Linked DNA regions of Homo sapiens: regions 2, 3 and 4 are each linked to region 1. Evidence: promoter capture Hi-C in 16 types of primary human blood cells and fetal thymus (Javierre and others, 2016). All regions are on one chromosome and are shown on one strand. Each heading gives the region's core, a stretch centred on a gene start or on the middle of the fragment in contact. The rest is flanking DNA. Distances are from core to core; before and after follow the strand shown.

What was found. The method cuts DNA at HindIII sites, captures the fragments that hold promoters and counts their contacts. A CHiCAGO score of 5 or more calls a contact.
Region 2: a contact is called between a fragment that was not itself captured here and the fragment with the promoter of PPP4R1 in region 1, in 1 of 17 cell types (neutrophils). The highest score is 7.6, in neutrophils.
Region 3: a contact is called between a fragment that was not itself captured here and the fragment with the promoter of PPP4R1 in region 1, in 1 of 17 cell types (neutrophils). The highest score is 11.0, in neutrophils.
Region 4: a contact is called between a fragment that was not itself captured here and the fragment with the promoter of PPP4R1 in region 1, in 1 of 17 cell types (neutrophils). The highest score is 6.5, in neutrophils.

The regions. Positions count from the first base shown.
Region 1 is chr18:9,612,104-9,615,808 of GRCh38, reverse strand. PPP4R1 (protein phosphatase 4 regulatory subunit 1) reads left to right here and starts at 1,250. Exons shown (of 20, transcript NM_001042388.3): 1 at 1,250-1,331; 2 at 1,539-1,583. The coding sequence starts at 1,325. It overlaps PPP4R1-AS1 (PPP4R1 antisense RNA 1), which reads right to left and starts at 1,002. Exons shown (of 3, transcript NR_110773.1): 1 at 795-1,002. RefSeq lists silencers at 554-1,063, 1,164-1,433, 1,534-1,783 and an enhancer at 2,054-2,133. The HindIII fragment of the contact is 7,461 bases long and covers 1-3,696 here.
Region 2 is chr18:9,738,104-9,741,808 of GRCh38, reverse strand. The region is part of intron 1 of RAB31 (RAB31, member RAS oncogene family); the gene reads right to left. Among named protein-coding and RNA genes, the nearest start is that of RAB31, 32 kb to the right of the region's middle. The HindIII fragment of the contact is 6,224 bases long and covers 1-3,705 here.
Region 3 is chr18:9,710,655-9,714,359 of GRCh38, reverse strand. The region is part of intron 1 of RAB31 (RAB31, member RAS oncogene family); the gene reads right to left. All of the region lies in intron 1 of LOC105371981 (a long non-coding RNA gene), which reads right to left. Among named protein-coding and RNA genes, the nearest start is that of RAB31, 4.2 kb to the right of the region's middle. The HindIII fragment of the contact is 369 bases long and covers 1,857-2,225 here.
Region 4 is chr18:9,693,303-9,697,007 of GRCh38, reverse strand. The region is part of intron 1 of LOC124904244 (a long non-coding RNA gene); the gene reads left to right. Among named protein-coding and RNA genes, the nearest start is that of RAB31, 13 kb to the left of the region's middle. The HindIII fragment of the contact is 9,250 bases long and covers 1-3,705 here.

The DNA.
Region 1 (3,705 bases), core at 1-2,500:
CAACACATTGTCCTTGGTCAAGACTACAACGTAGAAAGGAACAAGCTAATTAACTACTTAGAATTCCCTCTCCTAAGAGACCACATCGCCAAAGTGGCACCATGACACAGCTTGGTGTTTTGTTGGTCACTTTAGGAGAACACCATTTTGGAGGCCTTGGGTGGAGCTGGAGATAGAGCCATGGAGGTAGAATCGTGTCGGAAAACCTGGGTTTAGCCCCATTTTGTACTTGGGCGTTTGAGCTAATCGCTTAAGTCACGTAAAACAACAAGACTAATAAAGTCTGGGATACAGACTTTAACACCTCAAGTGCTGCCAAAAGTATTTAGAAGACAAAGCGAATCATAGGCACCCTTCACCGAGCACCTCCTAGACATCAAGAACCATGCTAGGTTCCCTACATTCTTCATTTAATGCCAATAACCCCACGAGGCAGTTATCACCTTCATTCTACAAATGGGCCCCACTCCTACCAATTAACTGGCTGAATCAGGATCTGACCCCGGGCCTGCCAACGCTCCCGCTGGTGGATTGCCCGCCTTGTCAGCTCGAGTTGGCAGGACGTGGGAGTAAAAACCCGGCGCCCCAGCCTTCACCGTGCTGCACGAGGAAGCTGGCTAGGCAGGCATGACTTTGTCAGTCAACCATCCCGCAGCCGGGCCCTGGGCTTTGTTAGCAGCCACTTGGCGAGGGCCCCGGGCGGGTGGGGAGGCGGCGCTTCCTCCAAGAGGAGGTGGGACCCCGGCCCCGACGACCTCGGAGCCGCCCCCGGCCCCGGATCGCCGACGACGTACGTGCAGGCCTGGGGATGGGGCGCTGGCTGCGAGCGGCGCGCCCGCCGAGATGGCTGCGGCTGGCAGGGCGGTGGGCGAGGCCGGTGACCCAATAAAGCGGCCGGGCCGCGGGAGGCCCCGCCCGGCCGGGTTCCGGCACTCGCCGCAGGGTCCCGGCCGGCGGCAGGTTGCGCGCCCCCGTCCGCAGCGCTCGGCGTGAGGGCGGCTCGGGAGGAGGGTGTGAGCGCGCGTCGCCGGGCCGGGACCCGGCAAGCAGCGGGAAAGGCGGGAGGCGGGAGCGCCGGTCGCCCGGGAGCCGCGCGGAGGGGCAGGCGGGGCGGGGCGGGGCGCGGCCGGGGGCCCGGGCGGCCGGGAGCCGCGCCGCCCGCGGCAGGCCCGGGCCCTCGGCCCGCCCCGCGCGCGCGCCCCCGCCAGCCCGGCCCTCCTCCTCCCCGCCGCCCCTCCCGCGCGCGTCCACCGGCTCCCCGGCTCGCGCCGCTCCATGTAGCCCCGGCTCCCCGGGCGGCCGCGGAGGAGGGGGCGACCACAAGATGGCGGGTACGTGGCCCCCTGTTCTCCGGGCGGCGGCGGCTCCTCGAGCCCACCCGCCCTCCGCCGCAGCCCTGAGTGGCTGCCGGGCCGGGGCCGGCGTGGGGTCCCGGCGCGGGAAGGCGCCCCCGGGGCGGGGGGGAGGCGGGCGGGGGGGGGGCGTCGCGCCGGGCCCCGGGGCGCTGACCGGGCCTTTCTTCTCTCCCCTCGGCGCAGACCTCTCGCTGCTTCAGGAGGACCTGCAGGAGGACGCAGACGGATGTGAGTGGCCCGGCCTCGCGGTGGCCTGGCAGTCCGCGGGGAGCGGCCGGGGAGGGCGGGCGGCGGCGAGGCCTGGGCCGGGCCCTGGCTGGCTGAGGGGACGGTGGGCGAGGGCGGCCCCAGGCGGGCTGGGGTGGCGATCGGGGGGGAAAATCTCGCGTCCGTGAGGAAACGGCGCGCCCAGGTTCCGCTGGGGGAGGGAGACGCCCGGAGTAACGCCCAAGTTCGCTTTCCGCCCTTCGCTCTCTTCTCCCGGCGCCCCCGAATCGCCTGCGGGCTCAGCAGTGGCGCGGCTGTTTTGGAAGGAGAAGCGGTGGGGCAGGATTTGAAGTGGGGTTTGGGTGTGTTTCTGCCCCTGGTGTCCCCTTCCCCCGTCACTCTAGGAAGGAAGAGGCTCGCGCGGGAGGTGTGTTTCCTTAGAGTCGCTCTTCCAGGAGCGCCCGGGGGTCAGCCTGGGCCCCGGCTAGCCGTCTGGGCTCCCCGACCCGGTTTTGGATTGTTTGAGGATGACATACCTGTCATTTTACTTTGGCTGGTAGCAGTTTTCAGATGCTCCCGATTTGATTAGTGGATTACGAGAAGGTTAGAAGGTGTGGCCTCCGCAGGAATTACTAGGTTTGGAGAGCATATTTCTTTAATGCGGATGTTCAGAAATCACCCAGCCCTCCTTCAGTGTTAACAGTGCAGCTTTCCTTTGAGGTACTGAAGTTTTTAAAGAGTTGACGCTTTTATTTTTAAAAAGACAAAGTTTCTGACATTTCCTGATGGCGACGGAATTGATATTTAGAAAGGAATTTTTCGTCTTATATGTACTTTTCTAAGCCTCAGAAAATAATTTGGGTCACGATAGAAAAGACAAAAGAGTTAAGCAGGTTTGTATTGAAAGAAGTGACAAATTGCAGTTAACTTAAAATAGTTTCTATTCTTGCTAATCTTCCAAAATAGCGACCCATCAAAAAATCAATAGGTTTTGAGATGCATTTTAAAAATGCAGAGTGTGCAAAATATATAAGCGAAGATCATGGGATACATAAGGGACCAAGAAATTGTTCTGAGTTGAGATGATAACCATAGTAGGATTGTGGTCTGTTTAGTGGAAAGCCTACCGGATGCTGAGATTGACTGTCTAGTACCTGTATAAGTAATTTCAGAGATGGCTGCAGTTTGAAATTACTCTTTTAAATACTCTGTAGTTAATCCTTAGCATTGTCTAATGTGGTTCCCTTACTCAGAGTAAACTTAATTTTTAGATTCCTGGTTGTTTTGAGTAAAGTAAGGGGGATTTACTATTTAGATGGATTATCTGAAACGAGTAATTTATCTTTAAAGTAAATGAACCACATCCAAACTTTTGCTAAGTCTGTGTTTTTAGTGAGGTGGCTCAAAACAGCTCTCTTAAAGGGAGCAGTACTCATGTAGTGAAGGGCAGCTTTAACATTTTATTTAATGTTTACCTTAAGCCACTTATCTGCCTAATAGTAAGTTTGAGATATTATTTAAGGCATCTGTTGATTTCAGATCTCTTGCCAGGTTAGGATTGGAGAAATGGCCCTGATTATGTTACCTCGAGGAGGGCTTTTTATATTTATGTTCGACTTCGTAAATAGAAGATTCATTTATTCAGCAAGTATTTATGACTGGAGCAAAAACTTCTCACTCCTGAAGGATGAAATGCAGTCTCAGTTTCTTCCTTAGCCCCCAAGAAGCACAGTGTAGAGGGGAAGGCATACCTGTGAAAAATTCAACCATGAGTTTCAACACTCTGCCAGGTACTGGGGATGGAGCTTTGAGAAAGATGGGCACAACCCATGCCCTCTAGTGGTTTACAAGCAGTTTTGAATCTAGGTGTACAGTACAGTATTACAGTTACCACTGGAGCCAGGCTGCTCTGTTTGTCTTAGCAGTGTCTTTTTGGGCAGACTTGGGCAACTCACTTAACCTCCCTATGCCTCAGTTTTGTCATTTGTAAGTAGGCATAAGAAATATTACCTACTTCATAGAGTTGTTCAAGGCTGTACATGAGTTAGTGCCTCTGAAGCACTTGGAACAATTCCTGGTAAACAGCGATGATTATGATTATGTTTGCTGTTATGAGAAAAGAGCAAGGGAAGCTTAAAAGAAG
Region 2 (3,705 bases), core at 565-3,064, 130 kb before region 1:
TTTCCAAATGAAATCTCCACCCTCAATGGCAGGCCTGGGTTCCTGTGAAAAGTCAACGGCCCCTGAGGGGGCTGCTGGAGCAGCAGGACAGCCTAGCAGTGGCCTCCACCCCTGCCCACAGCCCTGAGATCCAGCCGAGGGCTGCCATGGACATGTACGTGCTGCACACAGGCTGAGAGAGGCTGGCACTGGCGCAGGACAAGTGGTCCTGCTGGCCCCTTCCTCCCAGCACAGAAAGGACTTCCCACTGGACAGATGGTGCGTGGCTGGCAGGAAAGCTCCATCAGCTCTGACTCTGCAACTCCAGCCCTTGTGATCCATCCACGGTGGTATTGTCTTGGTCACTTAGCACTGACACCCAATTCTGAAGTTTGCCACAATCCAGGGGTGCCCAGAGCAGCTGCCTTTTTTTTTTTTTTTTTTTTTTTTTTTGAGACGGAGTTTTACTCTGTTGCCCAGGCTGGAGTGCAGTAGCGTTATCTCGGCTCACTGCAACCTCTGCCCCACCAGGTTCAAGCAATTCTCCTGCCTCAGCCTCCCTAGTAGCTGGGATTATAGGTGCCCGCCACCACACCTGGCTAATTTTTGTGCTTTTAGTGGAGACGGAGTTTCACCATGTTGGCCGGGCTGGTCTCGAACTCCTGACCTCAAGTGATCCGCCCACCTCGGCCTTCCAAAGTGCTGGGATTACAGGCGTGAGCCACCATGCTGGGCCTAGAGTGGCTGCCTATTACACTATGCAGCACACAATGCCCCAACAGGAGTCACCAGCCTCAATGCAGCCCCTGCCAGGGGTTTTCCCAAGTCCAGCATCTTACACAATAGGGTCTTGTTTTAAGAACCCAGAGGCCACTTACTACAAGCAAGGAAGGCATTGCAGTGTGCGCTGCTACTGCTGACATATCAAAGCCCCCTGGAGGCACCTCTGCCATTAGAGACCCCTGTGCAGCAACTTCCATATGTCATTTCCCAAGAAAACCTGTTTTTCTGTTTACCCCCTTTATTCTAGCATTGGTATGATGTGGACAGAAGATGTGTGAGCACAGTATGATCTGCTTCTGGGTAACATTAACCCACCAAAAGAATTTTTTTTTTTGAGACAGAGTCTTACTCTGTTGCCCAGGCTGGAGTGCAGTGGTGCAATCTTGGCTCACTGCAACCTCCACCTCCCAGATTCAAGCAATTCTCCTGCCTCAGCCTCCTGAGTAGCTGGGATTACAGGTGTGCGCCACCACGCCCAGCTAATTTTTGCATTTTTAGTAGAGACAGGGTTTCACCATGTTGCCAGGCTGGTCTCGAACTCCTGACCTCAAGTGATCCACCTTCCTCGGCCTCCCAAAGTGCTGGGATTACAGGCGAGAGCCACCACGTCCAGCCAAAATAATTTTAAATTTTGCATTTGGAGAAGTATAAATAACTTTACTGTAAAGAGGTGTCATCCTGATGCAATAATGCAAATTAAATCAGGCTCTGAGCAAATTAACTTGTTTCACTGGAAGCGTTAGGTAAGTAGATGATTTCTATGATTCATCCTATAGAGGAAGGAACAAAGGAACTTTTACTGAAAACTCATCATATGACTGGCATTATCCTGGATGTTCTCAAAATACTTGTTACAATGACTTTGTGAGACAGTTATCATTACCAGTGAATCGGAATGTCAGAGAGGCTCAACAGCCGAACTGAAGGCCACACAAACAGCAAGTGAGGGAGTCAGGATTCATCCATTAGGCTGGTCTAACTAGAATCATAGAGCTCCTCTCGTCACCCCAGGGTCTGAGGTCAGAATCAGCTCCAAGTTTGCAGATCAAAGCTCTAGCCAAGGAAGACACAACTGGCCTGGCAGTGTCCTCATTGGAAAATAAAAGATGCTTAGGAGAGAAACTGCTGGGGCTCTGTGATACTCACTCTCCCTTTCAACTATTAGAAAAAGAACCCTGAGTTTTAGCTGGGCCCCTGGTTACCCAGCTAACGATGACATTTTCCCATCTTCCTTGCAGTCAGGGGTGGCCATGTGACCAGGTGCTGGCACACAGGACAGGAGAGTATACAATGTGATGACCCCACAAGCCACCAAACAAGCCCTGAACCAGCCACCAGGAGGACTGAAAAAGCTGAAGTCACTATAATCTGGGATCTCCTGTTTCAGCAGCTTAGTCTGTATCCTCATCAATACAGTGTATCTAAGAAACTTAAAAACCTGTGCTTTACTCTCCATAGGCTAAGAATCATCCAGATAGTTTGTTTACTTTTTTTTTTTTTTTAGCACATTACATCTTCCTAAGCAGTAAATTCATCCTGCACCCTGAGTCTGAATTCTTACAAATTCTTTTTTTTGAGACAGAGTCTCCCTCTGTTGCCAAGACTGGAGTGCAGTGGCACAATCTCGGCCCACTGCAAGCTCTGCCTCCCAGGTTCACGCCATTCTCCTGCCTCAGCCTCCTGAGTAGCTGGGACTACAGGTGCTCGCCACCACACCCAGCTAATTTTTTATTTTTAGTAGAGACGGAGTTTCACCGTGTTAGTCAGGATGGTCTCGATCTCCTGACCTCATGATCCGCCTGCCTTGGCCTCCCAAAGTGCTGGGATTACGGGCGTAAGCCACCGTGCCTGGCCAAATTCTTAGAAATTCTAAGGCAATGAAATCCAAATTTACGAGATGTATTTATATAGTATGCAACTATATCATGCATTACAATCCATTTCTTTAAACTCATATTCTTTCCAGTGTTTTTATTTGGAACATGCCACCTGAGTAGAAAAACAAAATGTTTTTTCTCCTAGTCTACTCTCACAACACAAAATGCTTCTGTGACCAAATGTACAGGAGGTTTTCCCCACACACCAAGCAAGCCACTGATTCTTCAGCGGACACCAGCGTTCTCTAGTTCTCTGAGTGTTCTCTAGTTCAACTCAATTGTGAAGCTACCTACCTGGAGATAATGTCAGATCCCACAGCGGGAGGCTGAGTCCTACAAGGCTGCCTCCTCCTACTCCAGAGGCCTAGCACAAGGAGGAAGGTGTCCTGTGCTTCTGATTGATGGGCTGCAAATCAGGGTTCCCATGACCACTTCCTCAGGTTTGATTAATTTGCTAGAGTGGCTCACAGAACCCCGGGAAACACTTACTGACATTCACCAGTTTATTATAAAGGATGTTACACAGGATGCAGATGAAGAGACTTGTAGGGCAAGGCATGTGGGAAGGGGTGTGGGACTTCCATGCCCTCCCCAGTGTGCCCCTGCGCCGCCCTCCAGGAGCCTCCACATGTTCAGCTATCCAGAAGCTCTCCAAACTCACCCTTTTGGGTTTTTATGGAAACTTCATGACGTAGGCATGCCTGATTAAACCAATGGCCACTGGTGATCAACTCAACCTTCCGCCCCTTCCCTTCCCTGGAGGTCCCTTCCCTGGAGATTGGTGGTGGGGCTAAAAGTCCCAACCCTCCCATCTTGCCTTGGTCTTTCCTGTGACCAGCCCCATCCTAAAGCTACCTGGGGGCTGCCAGCTATCAGTCCATCATGAGCAGGCAAAAAATACTCTTTGCTCCAGAGATTCTAAGGGTTTTAGGAAACAGGGATGAAGACCAAATACACATTTCACAATATCCCACCACCCACCCCACAGTTAGCTCCTCGCCAGGGGGTCTGTCTGCCACACCGGTCTTGCAGTGGCCCAGGCGGCGTTAAGTCATTGGAACCAGGG
Region 3 (3,705 bases), core at 792-3,291, 98 kb before region 1:
GCATGTGAGGGATCTAAGTTGCATGCTCCTCATGAGAATCTAACTAATGCCTGATGATCTGACGTGGAACAGTTTCATCCTAAAACCATCCCCCGCCTCCTGCTCCCATCTGTGGAAAAATCGTCTTCCACAAAACTGATCCCTAGTGCCAAAAAGGTTGGGGACCACTGTCCTAGCATCTTAAAATGTAAAGTTTCCTATTTTCTCATGGCTGTGGCCTTAGAGCAGACCTAAAGGATATATCACACTCACTAAAACAGTGTCATTGGGCCAGGGCAAAAGTAGAGGCCACATGCCTGAACACTATTGACAAGGTACTATGGAATTAATATTTGTGTCCCTCCAACAAAATTCCCATTTTGAAGCCTAACCTCCAATGTGAGGATATTAGGAGGTGGGCCTTTGGGAGGTGCTTAGGTTGTGAGGGTAGAGCCTTCATGAATGGGGTTGGCGTCCTTATAAGAAGAGAAAGAGACCGAGCACTCTCTCAGTCATGTGAAGTTACAGCAAGAAGGCAGCTGTCTGCAAACCAGAAATCGAGCCCTCACCAGGCACTAGATCTGCCAGCGCCTTGGTCTTAGACTTCCCAACCTCCAGAACTGTGAGAATTAAATGTCTATTGTTTAAGCCCTCCAGCCTATGGTATTTTTGTGACAGCAGCTCAAATTAAGACATAAGGGATGGGGGAAGGGACCATGAGAAGCTTGAAAATGCTCCTCAAATGATTCTGATACACACTCCAGAGATGCACTGAGCTCTGAAAGCTGAGGGAGGATGAAAGCAGCAATGCTGACCCTGAACAAAGGAGGAACAAAGGGACCCTGATGGATTCCATCAGCCTGGGATGGGTGCATAAGACACAGTGTTACCATATGCCAGGCACTGCTGGGAAGATAGCCCACTATATCATATTTATTCTCGTGTAACATAGAACGTACCCAGAGTCACCAATGCTGAACATACTTTCCACAAATGGTTCAATTTAGTAGAGGAATCAGTTGTGCCAAGAAATAAATGCTGTGGCTAGCCACTCAACCCTCCCCACCATCCCCCTTCCCCAAGAAATGCCAGTCTCGGGAGAAAAAATAGTAAGTTACTAGAATCTCAGACTTGGAAAGCAAATGTGATCATTACCTAGCCCAACCCACTATCCTATGCATTACTTCCTTCCACAATAACACTAACAAATTCTTATCACCTTATTGGATACTCTGTCATACAGTGCTCATAGCAACTCATGTGAGGTTGCACAGTTCTGATGATCTGCCTTACTGTGAGTATAAATCTGTTCTACTCTTGCGTCCTAGTGTCCCTGGGGAGACAAGAGGCCTTCCATGCGAAGGCCCTGGACATAGGTGAAGTACCCATTACCCAGATGTCTCACCAAATCCCAGGTATTTGACTGCTCTTTAATGAGCCACCATATACATTCCAACAAAGATCACAAGATGCTTCAACAAGCTCCTTACCAGAAGCAGGGAAGCCATCGGCTCTTTTAACTGATCACTCAGCTATTGAGGAAGTGGTAGGAATTTCTAAATTGTTGTCAAGACAACCAAAGTCCAAATATAAATCTCTTTGGGATTCCATCAGGAAGCAGTTTTTAAGTGCACGCAGTTTTTAAGTGCACGCACACAAATACCCCAAGGAGATAACAAAACAAAGGTCCCCTCCTTCTCTTTCTCCTCCTCCCCACTCTCTCCCTTCCTCCTGCTTCTTGCCACATGGTGATGTGTGTTAAAAATGCATACTGGGAAACTTTTCCACCTTTGGGGTTGAAGCAGCTGCTGCCTCAGTGTTGTTTTTGTTAAGTATTTTTTGTTGTTGTTGTTAACATACTTTGTTGCCTTTAAGCTTCATGTTTCATAATACCAGTTCAGATCACAAAGTGGGACGAATGACACTTTCCTGGTAAGAAGGAAACTCATGGGGTCCTGCCCAGGGTGCTTCCCCCTATCAAGCACACCCTCCTGCACGGCTGACTTCCACAGGTGACTCGGCTCAGGCCAGGAAAGGGCGTTCACAAAGGCTTGCTGGGCTGTCCCCATGTGGAATAAACCCAAGAAAGTCCACACATGAAATGTGAGCCAAGAATTTATAACAGGTAACCTAAACAAACCCAACGCTCTTCAGTCCTTGGTTTTCCAAGAACACAAAGCATTCAGAGAATGTTCCACAGGCCATTATCCATCCCATGTGGGAGCATTCACCAATAGAAATAAGCTTGGACATTCCTAATGTGCCAGGAAGACAGGAGAGGTTCAGGTAAAGAAGACCTGGCACCCGGCCCACTTTCACTCCCACCTGCTGCAAATGACTCTAACGTCAGGAGGTAAGACCTCCGACCCCATGGATGGAGCAGGAAACTACAGCAAAGAGTGACCAGCAGGGAGCCTGTGCTGAAAGCGCCTACTGCCCATGCCTAAAACAACCTATACCTTAAATGCGAAGCATGTCCCCAAGTCCCCACTGAGCACAGTACCAGGCACAAAAAGACCAACCCCTCAGCCTTCCCAGTGAGAGTGATATTTTGTTATGAAGTCTATGTTCTCTATCACCTTATAAGGGAAACCCGACAGAAAGTGATTCTAACAGGCAGAAAGAAGGTGTGGCTGTCAGGGTCTTGGTCATAGCAAGACTTCAGGGAGGTGTCTCATGGCTAAAAAACAGGAAGCTGAATGCCAGCCACACACAAAACTTCACCCAGAAAAGACAGACCTCCCTACGCAAAGCACAAATGAGCCCAAGGTTCCTGTTAAAATGTTGAAAGAGCCTGGGCAACATAGGGAGACCCCATCTCTACAAAAATAATAAAAAGTATTAGCTGGGCTGGGTGGTACACACCTGTGGTCCCAGCTACTTGGCAGGCTGAGGTGGGAGGATCACCTGAGCTTGGGAGGCTGAGGCTGCAGTGAGCCAGGATGGCACCATTGCACTCCAGCCTGGGTGACAGAGTGAGACCCTATCTCAAAAATATACATATATTTTTTAAAGGACTTTTGGACTTAGCACTGACTGATCCACAGGGTCTCTCGAATCAAGAGAATAAACCTAGGCTGATGCAGAAGGATCCACTGAGCCCAGGAGTTGGAGGGTGCAGTGAGCTATGATGGCACCACTGCACTCCAGCCTGGATGACAGAATGTGACCTTGTCTCAAAACAAAAAAGAGGAGAGAGAGAGAGAGAGAAGAGAGTAAACCGAAGACAGTCAAATGGTTTTGATCTCCCTCAATGTTATCCCACCCAGAGAATCAGCCTAATTGGATGAGCAGCTAGAAACACAGCCTGCTGCACACATCTCACCCAGGAAAGAGCCAGCCAAACGAGGGGATGTGGCAAATCTTACTCAGTGTGGACAACAAGGTCATTTGGTCTTTCAAATAAAATGTCCTCTGATTTCAATAAAACTGAAACTTACAGCCACCCTCAAAAAAAAAAAAAGGAAGCCACAAATGTGGTGTGATATGACTGATGTTTCTTTTCTTTTGTTTTCTTTTCTTTGAGATAGAGTCTCACTCTGTCGCCCGGACTGGAGTGCAGTGGCGTGATTTCGGCTCACTGCAACCTCCACCTCCCAGGCTCAAGCGATTCTCCTGCCTCAGCCTCCCGAGTAGCTGGGATTACAAGCATGCGCCGCTACCGCCCAGCTAACTTTTTTTTGTATTTTTAATAGAGACGGGGTTTGACCATGTTGGCCAGGCTGG
Region 4 (3,705 bases), core at 313-2,812, 81 kb before region 1:
TGTGTCATTTCTTTCATCTAGACACTGAGAAGGAGGTTGGACAAGATGCCATTGAAGGTTGCCTCCAGCTGAAATCCTGGGGATGAGCTCATGGAGGGCAGGCCTGGCCCTTCTCCTATCTCCCATTGCACATCATGCCTAAAACATGGCTCCCAAGTTGCCCGTGACAAACTGCCACCAATCTGCAGCAAAATGAGAGGGGGGACAAGTAATGTGATAAACTTTTCTTGGCAGGAAATGTATCCAATTATATTATTCTGAGAGTATTACTTTCCTACTTGGGGGTATGAAAATGTCATTTCTAGGCCAGGAGCGGTAGCTTACATCTGTAATCCCAGCATTTTGGGAGGTTGAGGCAGGTGCCTGTTGTAAACTGTCTCAGAGCCGTAGCTCAGAGAAGGTCAGAGAAAAAGAGAAAACACAGCACAAACAGAGAAGGCCCACCACCGGGACTGTCAGGTTTTGAAGGGAAGGCGAGGGTGAAAGAAAGACACACACAGAGGGAGAGGGCAGCTTAAACAGACACCTGCAGAAGTGGGGACCAGCTTAACACCAGAGCCCACCACTGCTTACAGGCCGGGGATACTTATAAGTATGGGTGGAAGGGGTCTGGGCAGTATGGCTTGCTGCCTGGCAGGATGTTGATAAAATGTTCCCATGATGAGGCGGTTCTGGCCCTTGTTCTGGCAGAATGTGGTGTTCCTTGCCCTTTCTCCCAGCAGAATATGATAGGGGTGTTTCTTTAGTTGGGTCTTTGCCTGTCTGCCTTGTGGTCAGGTGGTTAGGCAGGATGTTTCTTGTGGCCCAAACCCTTGTGAAATGTTTCACTTTGACCAAGGTCTGCAAAATAGCAGGGAGCTTACAAAATGGTGCAGTTTGGACTAACAGGAATAATGAGGACCTGCCACATGCACACGCAGGGCATTCTGAAAGCATGCAAACCTCCTGCCTTCCAGCCTTGCGACGTAACTCACACACGCGCCAACTAGAACTAAGGAGACAACTGTTGAGTGCCTTTTGAGAATTAACAGATAAAGTGTCTATGGAAATCCCTGAAATTTGCTTTAATCCTAATGCCTGGGCCCATTCCAGCAGAGATCAGCATGTTGGACCCCACCAGAGATTAAGCAAAAGGAAAGACAGGCTTAGCAGGAAGGGCGGGACAGTTGTCATCCTCCCAGCCGCCGTCGGGGCCAGCCACAGACTGTGTGTGGTGTTTCTGTTTAATTGTTTGACACACTGAGTGTACCATTCCAAAGTGAGTCCAATTTTTCCTATTTATTCCTTTTTCTATATTTACAGAGTCATAAGTTAAAGAATCTTATAGCAGATGCTTTCATGAAGACTCTGCCCAGTTCAGAAAAACTCTTTCCTCCGAAGAATGCTCCTTCTAAAAAAAAAAAAAAGGGGGAGGGTGGGGCAGGAGACCTGGCAGATACTGCTTTACTACTACCCCAACTGCTTGGCCACAGGTAGGCATGGGTAAATGTCTGATCCAAGGCACACCAGTGAAATTCTCTTGCAGGAATTTGGACCTGAGGTCCTGAGGGTCCACTTGGCTTCTATGTGCAACTGGAACTAAGGTGATGTAGACTCAGGTGCTGTGGGGTGGGTCTCAGGCATGAGGTGAGAGAGGGCCTGGAGCCAAAGTGCAGAGAGAGACACAGATGTGTGACCCTGTGGGAGCAAGAGTCTGAGGACACGGCTGTCATTGGTGCCTCTCATGAAGACAGCCACATCCCCTCACTGAGGATCTCTGAGCCACTCATGAAATGCCTAACAGGTCCCCTTCACTGAGCATGTCACTGCAATGCCGTGGAGACACCACAGGGCCCCACAGGTAACCTAGCACCATGCTAGTCCTGGCACCTTGTGGCTGACCAAGAAATATGTAACACATCACCTGTCACCAGACTAAGAAGAATCTTTGAAAGACTGGTATGTTCCATCTGGAGAGGATTAAGGAAAGCATAACAGCAACCTTCAAATAGTGCAAGCATACTCATCAAAGAATAGAAGGATCAGCTCCTGGATTACTTCTTTTCGTATTCATACCTGACCTTACTTGGGGAGCAAAATTGAAGTGCCTCGAAATTCTGAGAAGCTCCACATGGCAGATTAACTAACAAAGTGTGGATGCAGCAGAGCAACCCATCCCAACTCATCTAAAGGAGTGGCTCACTCTCTCTCTCTCTCTTTTTTTGAGACAATCTCACTTTATCGCCCAGGCTGGAGTGCAGTGGCACAATCTCAGCTCACTGCAACCTCCACCATTCAGGTTCAAGCAATTCTCCTGCCTCAGCCTCCCGAGTAGCTGGGATTATAGGTGCCCACCACCACGCCCCACTAATTTTTTTATATTTTTAGTAAAGACAGGGTTTCACCATGTTGGCCAGGCTGATTTTGAACTCCTGACCTCAAGTGATCCTCCCACCTCAGCCTCCCAAAGTTCTGTGATTACAGGTGTGAACCACCATGCCCGGCTGACTCAGTCTTGACAGAGATGTCCAGGTGAAAGAGCTTCTGGGGAAAGGAGTTAGCTGTCCTCCTCCTCTAGGGGCCGACTTGCCACCTGTCAGGACGTCAGCCACATGACCTCCATAGGAGGAATTGCTCCCCAGAACCTATGTGGCGACTCAGCAGCCTGCCACCCCTTTCCTGTCCAGCCTGACCCACGAGTGAGCTAGAGACCTGCTGGGCAATGTGCTGACTACATAGTTAACAGCAATGGATCTTATGCTTAAACACTGCTTGGAATAGATCTTAAATAGTCTCACCCAAAAAAAACAATAGGCATATAAAGTGAAGGATATATTAGCTTGATTTCACCATTCCACAATGTATACATATATCAAAACATCATGTTGTACACCATAACTATATAGTTTTTATTTGTCAATAAAGGAAGGAAAGAAGGAAGGGAAGAAGGACAAGGTGTGTGTTCGCAGGGCTGAATGCGGCCAATTTTTTAAAAACTTAACTCTGAGAATAATAGATTGCCTTTTTGTGGTAAAAATGACATTTTTAATGACATAAGTATGAAAACAGAATGATAGATGGGTTTTTTAAATTTTTATGTCAGTCATTACTAGACAAAGTGGATTAGCAACTTGAGGTCAGCCCCTTCATTTTTTGTTTTATTTTGTTCTGTGTGTGTGTATACATACATATCTTTTTAACTTATATTAGTGTGTAAAATCCAAGAGTCTGCAACTACTGAACTATATGACTTTAAGCCCCTTTCCAACTCTGGATTCTGGACTGTAGGACTGAACTTATTTCCAACAAACTTTACAGTCTGTCTTAAAACTTTATGTGAACAAGCAGGGAAAAGCAATATGGTCTCTCTCTAGAGGCTCTCTGGACCCACTCTAATGTTCTAGCCAGGCGGCTGCTGCCAGAAAGGAGATTGGTAGTATTGGCAGTATTATACCAGAAGTCACCTTGTAGTTTTGCCCCAACTTTTTATTTTGAAATTTTTCAAAGCTACAGAGGAATGGAAAAAATAGAACAAATCATTCAGATACCCTTCACTTACATTCACCAATTGATCACATTTGCCACCTTTGCTTTCTCTTTCTCTCTGTATAGATATAGATATATGGCTAAACCACACATACATTTTTGGTTGAACCTTTTACAAATAAATTAGAGTTCTCATCACATTTCACCCATAAATACTTCAGCATGTATGTCCCATAAACA